Regions from separate parts of the Homo sapiens genome. Here region 1 is linked to region 2. Evidence: promoter capture Hi-C in 16 types of primary human blood cells and fetal thymus (Javierre and others, 2016). All regions are on one chromosome and are shown on one strand. Each heading gives the region's core, a stretch centred on a gene start or on the middle of the fragment in contact. The rest is flanking DNA. Distances are from core to core; before and after follow the strand shown. Region 1 overlaps INO80 (INO80 complex ATPase subunit). Region 2 holds the start of CCDC32 (coiled-coil domain containing 32).

Region 1 (5,755 bases), core at 2,672-5,171, 450 kb after region 2:
TTTATTTTTTTTGAGATGGAGTCTCGCTCTGTTGCCCAGGCTGGAGCGCAATGGTGAGATCTTGGCTCACAGCAACTTCCACTTCCGGGGTTCAAGCGATTCTCCTGCCTCAGTCTCCCAGGTAGCTGGATTATAGGCATGCGCCACCATGCCTGGCTAAGTTTGTATTTTTAGTGGAGATGGGGTTTCACCATGTTGGTCGGGCTGATCTCAAACTCCTGACCTCAGGTGATACATGCGCCTTGGCTTCCCAAAGTGCTGGGATTGCAGGCATCAGCCACCACACCTGGCATAACGTGCGTTTTAATAACATTTGATTCGAAAGCATTAATTTTGAGAAACACTATTGTAGAACATATGCGGTTTTTGTTTTTAAGTTCCTTATACTGTTCTTTTTTTTTTTTTATTATACTTTAAGTTTTAGGGTACATGTGCACAATGTGCAGGTTAGTTACATATGTATACATGTGCCATGCTGGTGCACTGCACCCACTAACTCGTCATCTAGCATTAGGTATATCTCCCAATGCTATCCCTCCCCCCTCCCCCCACCCCACAACAGTCCCCAGAGTGTTATGTTCCCCTTCCTGTGTCCATGTGTTCTCATTGTTCAATTCCCACCTATGAGTGAGAATATGCAGTGTTTGGTTTTTTGTTCTTGCGATAGTTTACTGAGAATGATGATTTCCAATTTCATCCATGTCCCTACAAAGGACATGAACTCATCATTTTTTATGGCTGACATATGCGTTTTGGTTTTGTTTTGTTTTTGAGGCAGGGTCTTGCTCTATTGCACAGGATGAAGTATAGTTTTCTTGGATCACTGCAGCCTCGACCTCCTGGGCTCAAATGATCCTCTCACCTCAGCCTCCCAAGTAGTTGGAACTATAGGCATGCACTACTATGCCCAGCTAATTTTTAAATTTAAATTTAAATTTTTATAGAGATGGGGGTCTTGCTATGTTGTCCAGGCTGGTCTTGAACTCCTGGGCTCAAGTGATTCTCCTCCCTTGGCCTTCCAAAGTGCTAGGATTACAGGTGTAAGCCACTGTGCCCGGCCAAACATACCTGTTTTAAAAGCATCGGAACACTTTCTTCAAGCAAATTCTTACACGGAACCCCTCTAATATATAAAATAGATAAAAGCATCGCTATCCTGACTGATAAAGAGTGGCCATCTCCGCTTAATATCTACTGGTCCTCTAACACATCCCATCAGTCTGAAAACCACTGTTTTACTATACAAGTTGAGAAGACAATGCTCTGCTTGCATGCCACTGATTAAAAAGTAGGACTTACAGATCACATCCACACACCACATCAGTGGCATGCAAACAGAGCTGCCAGCATAACTCAAGATAGTTTTACTGAGCATTCACTAACTGCCAGTCACTGTTCTATTTTACCTGGTTATGTTTATCCAATCATTATGGCAACCTTTAAGGTAGGTGCTATTAAATATTTTTTTAATTTCTCTTTTAATTTTTTTTCCCCCAGGATCAGAGATCACAATCAAAATCTTCATGATCTGTTCTGTAACAGCTTCCAATCACCTCCTTTTTAAATTTTTTTTTTTTAGATTTTTAATTTTCATGGGTATATAGTAAGGGTAGGTGTTATTATTGTCCCTCCTATCTTACAGATGTTAAGGTCCCTAAAGTGACACAGGCAGTAGGTGGCAGACCTAGGACTGAAACTCAAGCAGATTGGTTCCAGAGTCCATGGCTTAACCCTCCTACTGTTTCCCAGATGGAAGGGATGATCAGTACTACTAAGATGAAAATAGAAAGGGAGCCCCATTTAACCCTAAGGTTCTTAATATATCCTGTCCATAACCTGATCTATCATCATCATAAAGGATAATTGGACACTTGAAAAAATAAAGGCAAATGTTTATATATCCTATTACCAACCTTTCATTCTGAAACTTCTATTCCAAAGCTGGCTCTGACTTTCATTTTAACCAGATTTCATTTTGATAAAACAATTTAGGGGAAGGACTCAATATGGTCCACAAACCTGCAGATCTGATGTAATTTTATTTTCTTGGACATGCTGTTTTCCATCTTTTGGGGTATATCATTAGCAAAAGGCTACTCTATTACAATTTTTCTGCAGTCCAAGCAAATTGAACCAAGAGTTAAATATGACAGCCGTAATTCCCTTATCTAATACAGAGCCCTTTGGAGCAAGACTAGCAAAAGGCAATCATGGGCCCAAAATAATCTGACTTCAACCTACTCCTGTTATTTCCCTTTCTTCTATGCCATATGTTCCAGTCACAATGGACTACTCTTGTACCTTTCTATCTCTCTTTTTACATCTGGCTTCCTTAGTCTCAAATTCCTTTCTCCCTGATGGTTGAAATTCTATTTGTTCTTAAGTTCAGATGCCACTGTCTTTGTGATGCTTTCCTCAAGAGTGACTCAGTTAGAAATAAACATATCCTTCTTGCTATCCTCAGCTCTGTTCACGCTTCATTTTGACATTAGTATCAGGGTACACTGACAGGTATTTGTGTATGTATATGTCTCCTCCACTAAATAGATTCCTTAAAGTCAAACATCACGTCTAACTAATATTTGCATCTGCCTAGCATTAATGCCTTGCTCAAAGGTAGCATGGAGGAAAAAAGAATTTAAAAAAGCTTATACACAGCATGGTTGTAAGCTGACAAATTTCCTTCTACAATTCTTAAGACCTAATAAGAACTCTAGTTAACAGTGGCCCCAATTTTCTTTCTTTTTTTTTTTTTGAAAGGAAGTAAAGTACACTTGGAAGAAGGCCAAGAAGGCAACTTAAGATATCAAGTGTGCCAATCCAATTTGCTTTTCATTCCATGGGGCATTTTCAGAATACCCAGCTTCCCAGTATCTTCAGAATCACAGCTTCCAAAGGTAACCTGCATTTCTAAGAGAGGCCAACTCATAAATGACAGAATGTCTGCTCAGGATAAATCTTCCCCCAGTGAGGCACTGCGCTTGGATAGATGACTGAGCAAGTTACACAACCCAGGGTCTCAAATGTCATTATGTATGGATTACCTGGATTTAATTCTATATTACACTATTATCATATGTTGGTAGAGTTCAAGATTTGTCTGGATTTCAGTATTTAACAATTACACCACATATAGCATAAGCTGATTAACTCTTTCCAAGTACTCTTTATTGTATAGGAAGTATCAAGTGGCCTATTTCCTTAAACTACAAACTCAGTTGCTAGATGCAATAGGAATGAAACTCAAAAGAGAAGACTCAGAGATAAGTCATCTGTAATAAGTTAAAAGCTCTTTGCTACTAGAATACAGAGAAGAGTCCCTAACCATGGTAAAACTGGTGGTAGCAGGAAAAGTTCTGCCTGACATCCAGCTGGATACCACCATCCCAAATGCACAGGGATTATGTGTTCCCCTAGTATGCCCAACAGCCAAGATCCTATAGGTGGCCAGGCGTGGTGGCTCACGCCTGTAATCCCAACACTTTGGGAGGCCAAGATGGGAGGATTACTTGAGGTCAGGAGTTTGAGACCAGCCTGGCCAACATGGTGAAACCCCATCTCTACAAAAATACAAAAATTAGCCAGGCGTGGTGATGCGCGCCTGAAATCCCAGCTGCTCTGGAGGCTGAGGAAGAATTGCTTGAACCCGGCAGCTGGAGGTTGCAGTGAGCTGAGATCCCGCCATTGCACTCCAGCCTGGGTGACAGAGCGAGACTCTTTTTAAAAAAAAAAAAAAAAGATCCTATAGGCGATTCAGTAAATATAAAATAAACTCATAATGACATTTATTGATCTATGATTTCCTCACCTATTTATGTCCTTGGCTTCTGCCCGTGGCAAACTAAAAACTCCTGGCTTGGAAATTAAGCAGTCTCCTCTTCACTATTTTTGTTTTTCTTAGTGCCCATTTGTTACAGCAAAAGCACTCTCCTTTTAAAAATCCCCTATCTAGAAATACTACTATTTGGATGCCATGTGAAAGAATACAACATTTCTGAATATAGTCTATTTGGAAGAAGATCTGATATATACACAAGAAATTTAAAGTCAGATTTTTACCCAAGGGAAAAAGGAAGCGATCAATGACTTTAAAAAATACTGTGCAAATAGTAATGTCCAAAACTAGTATTTCTCACAGAATGGAAACCTGGCCATAGAGAAGTATGTGAATTCTTAATGTCTTCTAGTTCTGCCAAGTCCCAGAAACAGACAGCCAGCCATGGCTAAGGCACATAACAACAACAACAACAACAACAACAACAACCACCACAACAAAAACCCAAAAAGGCTGTTGGATGAAAGAGAGTTGCTCACATACTCCACAGCAACACAGAGCTTTGATACCCGCAATGTGAGTTTCTAACTCTTACTCTATTGGAAGCATTTCTTTCTCTCTTTGAAGAGGGTATACGATTTCAAGAGAAAAAGGAAAATCCTGAAATAAAAACAAAACAACCAACATTTTGAGACTTAAGTTTGTGTTTTTTCTTAAGATCAAGTATACTCAATGGACAGGATCTATTCAGAAGGTCCCACTGCAAGATCATGTACCAGGTCATGCTTTAATGCTGAAACATGGCTTTAATGAATGTTAATACTCAGAGTTTCTATTATGAAAGTGACTGAAAAACACTCTTTCAAAGATAAAAAAACGCAGACCTAGTGCTGCACCATCTCAAGTCGTACAATATGTTTATATTTCAATCAATGATTAAATATATGGTAAACACTTTGGGCATTGTAATTCCATGCTCATAAATTAAATTCTATTTCAGTACTAATCTCCTGGAATACAGAATGTGGTTCATTTGAGTGGGTAATATTAAAACAAATTAAAAATGAATAAACTTTAAGAAATTAAAGGAAGAACCATTAGTGTAGTATTAAGGAAACCAGAGAAGAATTTCATTTTAGTTTTTAAAACATACAAATAGTTGCAACATTTTCTGGTTTCAACATCCAAGATGCATGTTATACATATGGCTAAGCAATGTCAGCAGTTGTGAAATTCAGGCTTTGAATTTGCATTTCCCTAATTTGGAATTCCCCTTAGAAATACATCTATGTTTAGAGAGGTTCTCAAGCTGCTTGTTTGCAAAACCTACCCACTAGGTCCATAACCCAAAAATAACTGTTGGATTATAGATAGAGAGGAAGTGATCCTGGTGGGTAGAGTTTACAGCACTTATCCTGAACAAAGCTTATCATACTCTGAATTACTTATTTTAGTAATATTTAATGAGAACCTAGAAGTGTGCGATACACCGAGGGAAGGACTATAATAAAGGCTGTATCAAACTTAAACCACCTACACTCACCTTCACCTACCGAAGCTAGTTTATTTTTGGATTGCTCATTCACATTCCCTTGGAACTTTCCTTTCATATGAATCAACATGTAAGACTATAGTCTTGGAAAAGAAATACCATTATGTCCCTTACCAGTATCCTTAGCATACTGCTTTTTCTTTAATTGTTAGCAGCTGAAGATCACTACTTTAGCTATACTTTCCCTGCCTCTTGAGGACAAGGAAAGTGCACTTTACCTAAAAAGAGCCCCACTGCAGGAAAAGTTACTCATGTTGTTTTGGCTGTTGGGATCATCTGTTTGAACAGAACACTAGACATGCAGGCAGTCCTTTTATTTTGGATTACTACTGTTAGGATATTTAACATAGTTAATATATACATCAAACACAACAGCTTAATCACCTCTCTTATGGTGACTTACATTCACTCATAAGCACTTCCATCAT
Region 2 (5,592 bases), core at 1,409-3,908:
GCCAACATGGTGAAATGAAACCCCATCTCTACTAAAAATACAAAAAATTAGCCGGGCATTGTGCCAGGCGCCTGTAATCCCAGCTACTCGGTAGGCTGAGGCAGGAAAATCGCTTGAACCCGGGAGGTGGAGGTTGCCATGAGCTAAGATCACGCCACTGCACTCCAGCCTGGGCAACAAGAGTGAAAGTCTCAAAAAATTAAAAATAAAAATAAAAAAAGATCTGTTCAAGGAAAAGGGGGCTGCTTCCCAACAGCCGGCTTGAAACATCCCTTGGAATTATATCTGACAGATACGTGTGACAGGAATAACAACAACACAAAAGAATAGGAAACCAAGTTTGATGTAACAGAACTTCAATATGCTTCCCTAGAGCCGTCAAACTTACCTAGAGATGCTAAATACACTTCTGAATCCTGCAAGGGAGCCCAAGGCTTTACAGCTGGCTGGACAGCAAAGTCAGCCACCTCCCTCTGGCCTTCACCTTCAGGGCAAGAATCCACAAAGGAGTCTGAGAATGCATTGTTGGCACCATCTTCTTGTTCAGGATTTGGCAGACAGGAACAAATTTCAGCCCAGAGATCCTGGCCAGATCTTGTGGCTGTAGAGTCAGCGCTCTCAAACATTTTCATTTGGAATCTGAGCTATAAAACAGAAGCTCAAGTGAGTAAGAACTGGCTTTAAGAATACAGCATAAGGTTGAGCACAGTGGCTCACGACTGTAATCCCAACACTTTGGGAAGCCGAGGCAGTCAGATCATTTGAGGCCAGCAGTTCGAGACCAGCCTGGGAAACATGGCAAAATCCCATCTCTACTAAAAATACAAAAATTAGACAGGTGTGGTGGCACATGCCTGTAGTCCCAGCTACTCCGGAGGCTGAGGTAGGAGGATCACCTTAGCCCAGGAGATAGAGGCTGCAGTGAGTGGTGATCACGCCATTGCACTCCAGCCTGGGTGACATTGCGAGGCCCTGTCTCACAAATAAATAAATAAAATAAAAATAAAAATGGAATTCCTACAAGCCATACACAAAAGGCAGATACTGTGATTCCACTTATATAAGGTACCTGAGTAGTCAAATTCATAGATACAGAAAATAGGATGGTGGGAGCTGGGGGCTGGGAGGTAGAAAGAATGGGGAATTACTGTTTAATGGGTACACAGTTTCAGTTTGGGAAAATGAAAAAGTTCTGGAGGTGGATGGTAGTTATGGTTGCACAACAATGTGAACACCACTGAATCATACACACAAAAATAGTTAAAATGGTCAATTTTATGCTACATATATTTTAACACACACACACACACACACACACACACACAAATCTGTAGGGCATTTCCAGGTTGGACAACCAGCCTGCACTTTTCTCCAAAGATCTCCAAAATGCAACAGTTCTATCTCCAGTCAATTAAATTCTGTTTTTTTTTCTTTCTTTCTTTCTTTTTTTTTTTTGAGACAGAGTCTCGCTCTGTCGCCCAGGCTGGAGTGCAGTGGCGCTAACTTGGCTCACTGCAACCTCCGCCTCCCGGGTTCACGCCATTCTCCTGCCTCAGCCTCCCAAATAGCTGGGACTACAGGCACTCGCCACCACGCCCGGCTAATTTTTTGCATTTTTTAGTAAAGACGGGGTTTCACCGTTTAGCCAGGGTGGTCTCGATCTCCTGATCTTGTGATCCGCCCGCCTCGGCCTCCCAAAGTGCTGGGATTACAGGCGTGAGCCACCGCGCCCGGCCCCTAAATTCTGTTTTCAACAGAACACAGACTAAAGGTCTTTCCACAGTTCCATATACATGAAGATCCTGCTTGGTAAAAAGTGTCTGTCAGAGAGTACTGTTACAATGCAAGGGCTGTGTGCTCAGCGCATGCAGTTCAGCCGTATGTCTCATGCTCTTATTTTAATACAATCACTGAAAGGTAGGTATTTTCACCATTTTACAGATGAAAAAACAAGTTCAGAAGGGTAACTTGCTCTAGGGCACATTACTGATATGTGGGGAATCCTTGACAGGAAAACCAGATCTGTGCTGCTCCAGAATCCATGTTTTTATCAAATACCATCCTGCTTGTTTGGAAAATATAACGAAAGCAGCCCAAGCACGGGCAGGTAGGAAAAGCTACGCAAAGAGCCTGGAGGCTTTTATAACTATCTAGGCATATGAGACAGGCTGACACCTTCTTTCAAGAGGAGACTTAGAAATCAGGAAGGCTGCCTGAGGCAAGGTCTGAATAATGCCAGGAGACAGAGCCCAGCCAGCGTAAAGGCCGGAAGTAAAAGGGACAGCTATGACACGGCGGTCCTGGGTGAACTGATGTCTAGCGCTACAGTGAACCCCCAACCCGAATTCGTCTAAAGCCACCCAAAACCAAAACTTTGCTCACACCAGAGCCCCGCATGGCCCCTTACCCCAGGGCAGGGCGTCCAGAACCACGCAGGAAATTCCGGCGTCCAGATCCCAGGCCTCAGTCGCTCAGGTCTCTAGGGCTGTCTGGACGGGATGAATCAGGTCCCAAGGCCTCTATGTGGTATTCCGGGGCCGGGCCAGAGTGGGAGATCCAAAACGCTGGGCACCCCAGCCCCTCCTCACTTACCGTAACAGCTGCCCAGTAAACGCTTGGCTCAGCTCTGTCGCCTGTAGCCCGGAGGAAATCGGGAGGGGCGGAGTCCCCTAGTGACGGAGCCCAGGAGTCCTCCAACTACCTTCCCACCCGACGATGTTCTGTGCGTCGATTGGTCGAGAGGAGCTCAGCGTGGTGAAGAAGTGAGGAGCAGCAAGAGGCGAGCGGTGGACGGGGCTCTGGTTGCCGGGAAACGGTGGAGTCACGTGCCCTGAGCATTGCCCCTCCCCTCCCGAGGGCCAGGTTGATTCCTTGCAGATCCAGGGTTCCAGTCCCTGCTTGGATAGGGAAGTCGTTTCCAAGACTTTTGACTTTTCCTAGTCGCCGGAGCCAGTTCACCTCCTCCACAACTTTCTCTGTCGGTGTTTGTCTTCTAAAAATTTCACCCCTTCGTTACCCAAATTAGAGCACTTCGGCGGCTTCTTTCCTTACTCTCCCAGGAGACTCGTGTCTCATTCATCAAATTATGAAGCTTTCCTTCATTCATTTAGTCAATAGATACCAAGCACCTGCTGTGTTCTAAGCATTGTGTTAAGCGTGAAGTTAAGACACATATGACTTGATATAAGTCCTGGAGATCCTTACAGCTTAGTAGTGTAGGAAGGGGGTCCGCCATGGAGGCATAAAAGTTTACAAATAACAGTAAACAGTGATAGACAGCCGGGCGCGGTGACTCACGCCTGTAATCCCAGTACTCTAGGAGGCCGAGGCAGGTGGATCACCTGAGGTCAGGAGTTCGAGACCAGCCTGGGTGAAACATGGTGAAACTCTGTCTCTACTAAAAGTACAAAAATTAGCTGAGCATGGTGGCACATGCCTGGAATCCTAGCTATTCGGGAGGCTCAGGCAGGAGAATCGCTTGAACCGGGAAGGCAGAGGTTGCAGTGAGACAAGATCGCACCACTGCATTCCAACCTGGGCAACAGAGCAAGACTGTCTCAAAAAAAAAAAAGGAGGGGGGCGTTGAGGATTATAGAGTATATGATGGAAGTGTGGCCAGAGTACATAAAGGAGAGAGTGGTCATAAGAAGTGTGTGTCAGAATGCTTTGTTGTTGTAGTTGTTAAAGGAGATGACCTTTGATATCCTTCAGGGGATAGATACCAGCTTGTTCATTGAGATCGACCCCTCCCCATCCCCAGCTTCCAGGATCAACACCAGTTACTCTCTCCCAAGAAACACGTGATGAAAGACATCAGCCAACCATCAGTAGCCAAGTAACTTGGCTGAGGAAATAGTTCTCACTCCAGCCTGGGTGACAGAGCAAGACTCCGTCTCAAAAAAAAAAAGAAAGAAAGAAAAAGAAAACAACAACAACAAAAACAACATAGTTTTAGGATTACAGATGTGAGCCACTGCGCCCAGCTAAAATACAATTTAAAATTCAGTTCCTGGCCGGGCTTGGTGGCTCATGCCTGTAATCCCAGAATTTTGGGAGGCTGAGGGGGTGTGGATCACCTGAGATCAGCAGTTCGAGACCAGCCTGGCCAACATGGTGAAACCCTGTTTCTACTAAAAATACAAAAATTAACTGGGCGTGGAGGCGCATGCCTGTAATCCCAGCTACTCAGGAGGCTGAGGTAGGAGAACTACTTGAACCCAGGAGGCGGAGGTTGCGCCACCACATCCGGCCTGTAATCCTAACACTTTGGGAGGCCAAGGTGGATGGATTGTTTGAGCCCAGTTTGAGACCACCCTAGGCAATGTGGCAAAACCTCGTCTCTACTAAAAATACAAAAAATTAGCCAGTCATGGTGGCACATGTCTGTCGTCTCAGCTACTAGGGAGCCTGAGGTGGGAGGATCACTTCAGTTTGGGAAGTCAAGGCTGCAGTGAGCCAAAATCGTGCCACTGCACTCCAGCCTGGGTGATGGGAGTGAGATCTTGTTTCAAAACTTGTTAAAATTTTAATTAATTTAAATTTAATTAGCCACATGTGGCTATTGTACAGCACATGGCTAATGGTGATCCTATTGTATAGCACAGGATTGGAGAATATTACATAGTTCACAGAACCTCAAGGTGAGTGGAGAGTCAGGCTTTAGGTCTATACAGCCAGGGACAGTATCTGAATCTCACTGAGAGACTGCTCAGGGAACACCCCACAGCCACTGAACATCTATAGCTGGCATTATTCGTCGATTGGGTACTTGACACAAGAACCTCCCCGACTGTTGGCCTCCCAGATTAGATGCCTCCAATGCTACCTTGTTAGACACGGATTTCACACTGAGCCTGCTTCCGCGGCTGTGTGCCTCTGAACCAAAGCCTCTGTCTAAGAGATAGAGCCCAGGTCAAATGCCTATGTCCAAGCTGCAAGAGAGTGTGGGAAGGCTCTGGCTTCTACCTTTTGGGGGCAGTAATGAAATGTGAGAAATTCCCCACCCAAAAGAAGGGTGTTCGGAAGATGCTGGATGTTTACAGAATATGACAAATGTCTACTCTACATGGTCTATGCCAGTGCTTCTCAAGCTTTAATATGCAGAAAAATCACCTGAGGATCATGTTAAAGTGCAGATTCTCATTTAGTAGGTCAGAAGGGGAGGAGGAACAAGATTCTGCTATGTTTTCTGTCTCCACAGTTTTGCCAGGCACTAGTCCAAGTATTTTACTTGAATTAACTAATTTAATTCTCCCACCCCAATCCTATGGAGCAAAGAGGCTAGCTAAGAATACATACTTTTCTTTTGGATAAGGTTCTGCTTTCACTGTAAATATCTTAATGAAATGATGCACTTGAGAGATGATGTCCCTCCTGTGAAGTAGTTTGGTTCTAACATACCCCACAATCAATGGAGAATTCTACCTCTTATTTCTGGAGGTAGTCAGGAATCAGACTTTTCAGCATATGGAGTTCTGCAGCTGTGGATACCTCAGCTGCAGTCCCTCAGTTAGTTTGGTGAGACTAATGACTTGAAGAAGGAATTTAGCTAAAAAAGATTTCCCTTTCTCCTCTCCAGAATACAAATGCCTA

Evidence for each region. Contacts are between HindIII fragments. The CHiCAGO score rates a contact against its expected background, and 5 or more counts as called.
Region 1: a fragment that was not itself captured here is called in contact with the fragment with the promoter of CCDC32 in region 2 in 1 of 17 cell types (M2 macrophages); the score reaches 5.2 in M2 macrophages.

The regions. Positions count from the first base shown.
Region 1 is chr15:41,008,840-41,014,594 of GRCh38, forward strand. All of the region lies in intron 27 of INO80 (INO80 complex ATPase subunit), which reads right to left. Among named protein-coding and RNA genes, the nearest start is that of INO80-AS1, 5.1 kb to the right of the region's middle. The HindIII fragment of the contact is 2,553 bases long and covers 2,646-5,198 here.
Region 2 is chr15:40,562,384-40,567,975 of GRCh38, forward strand. It overlaps CCDC32 (coiled-coil domain containing 32), which reads right to left and starts at 2,659. Exons shown (of 4, transcript NM_001080792.4): 1 at 2,593-2,659; 2 at 389-644. The coding sequence starts at 632. RefSeq lists enhancers at 3,058-3,107, 3,587-3,881 and a silencer at 4,834-5,013. The HindIII fragment of the contact is 7,257 bases long and covers 1-3,089 here.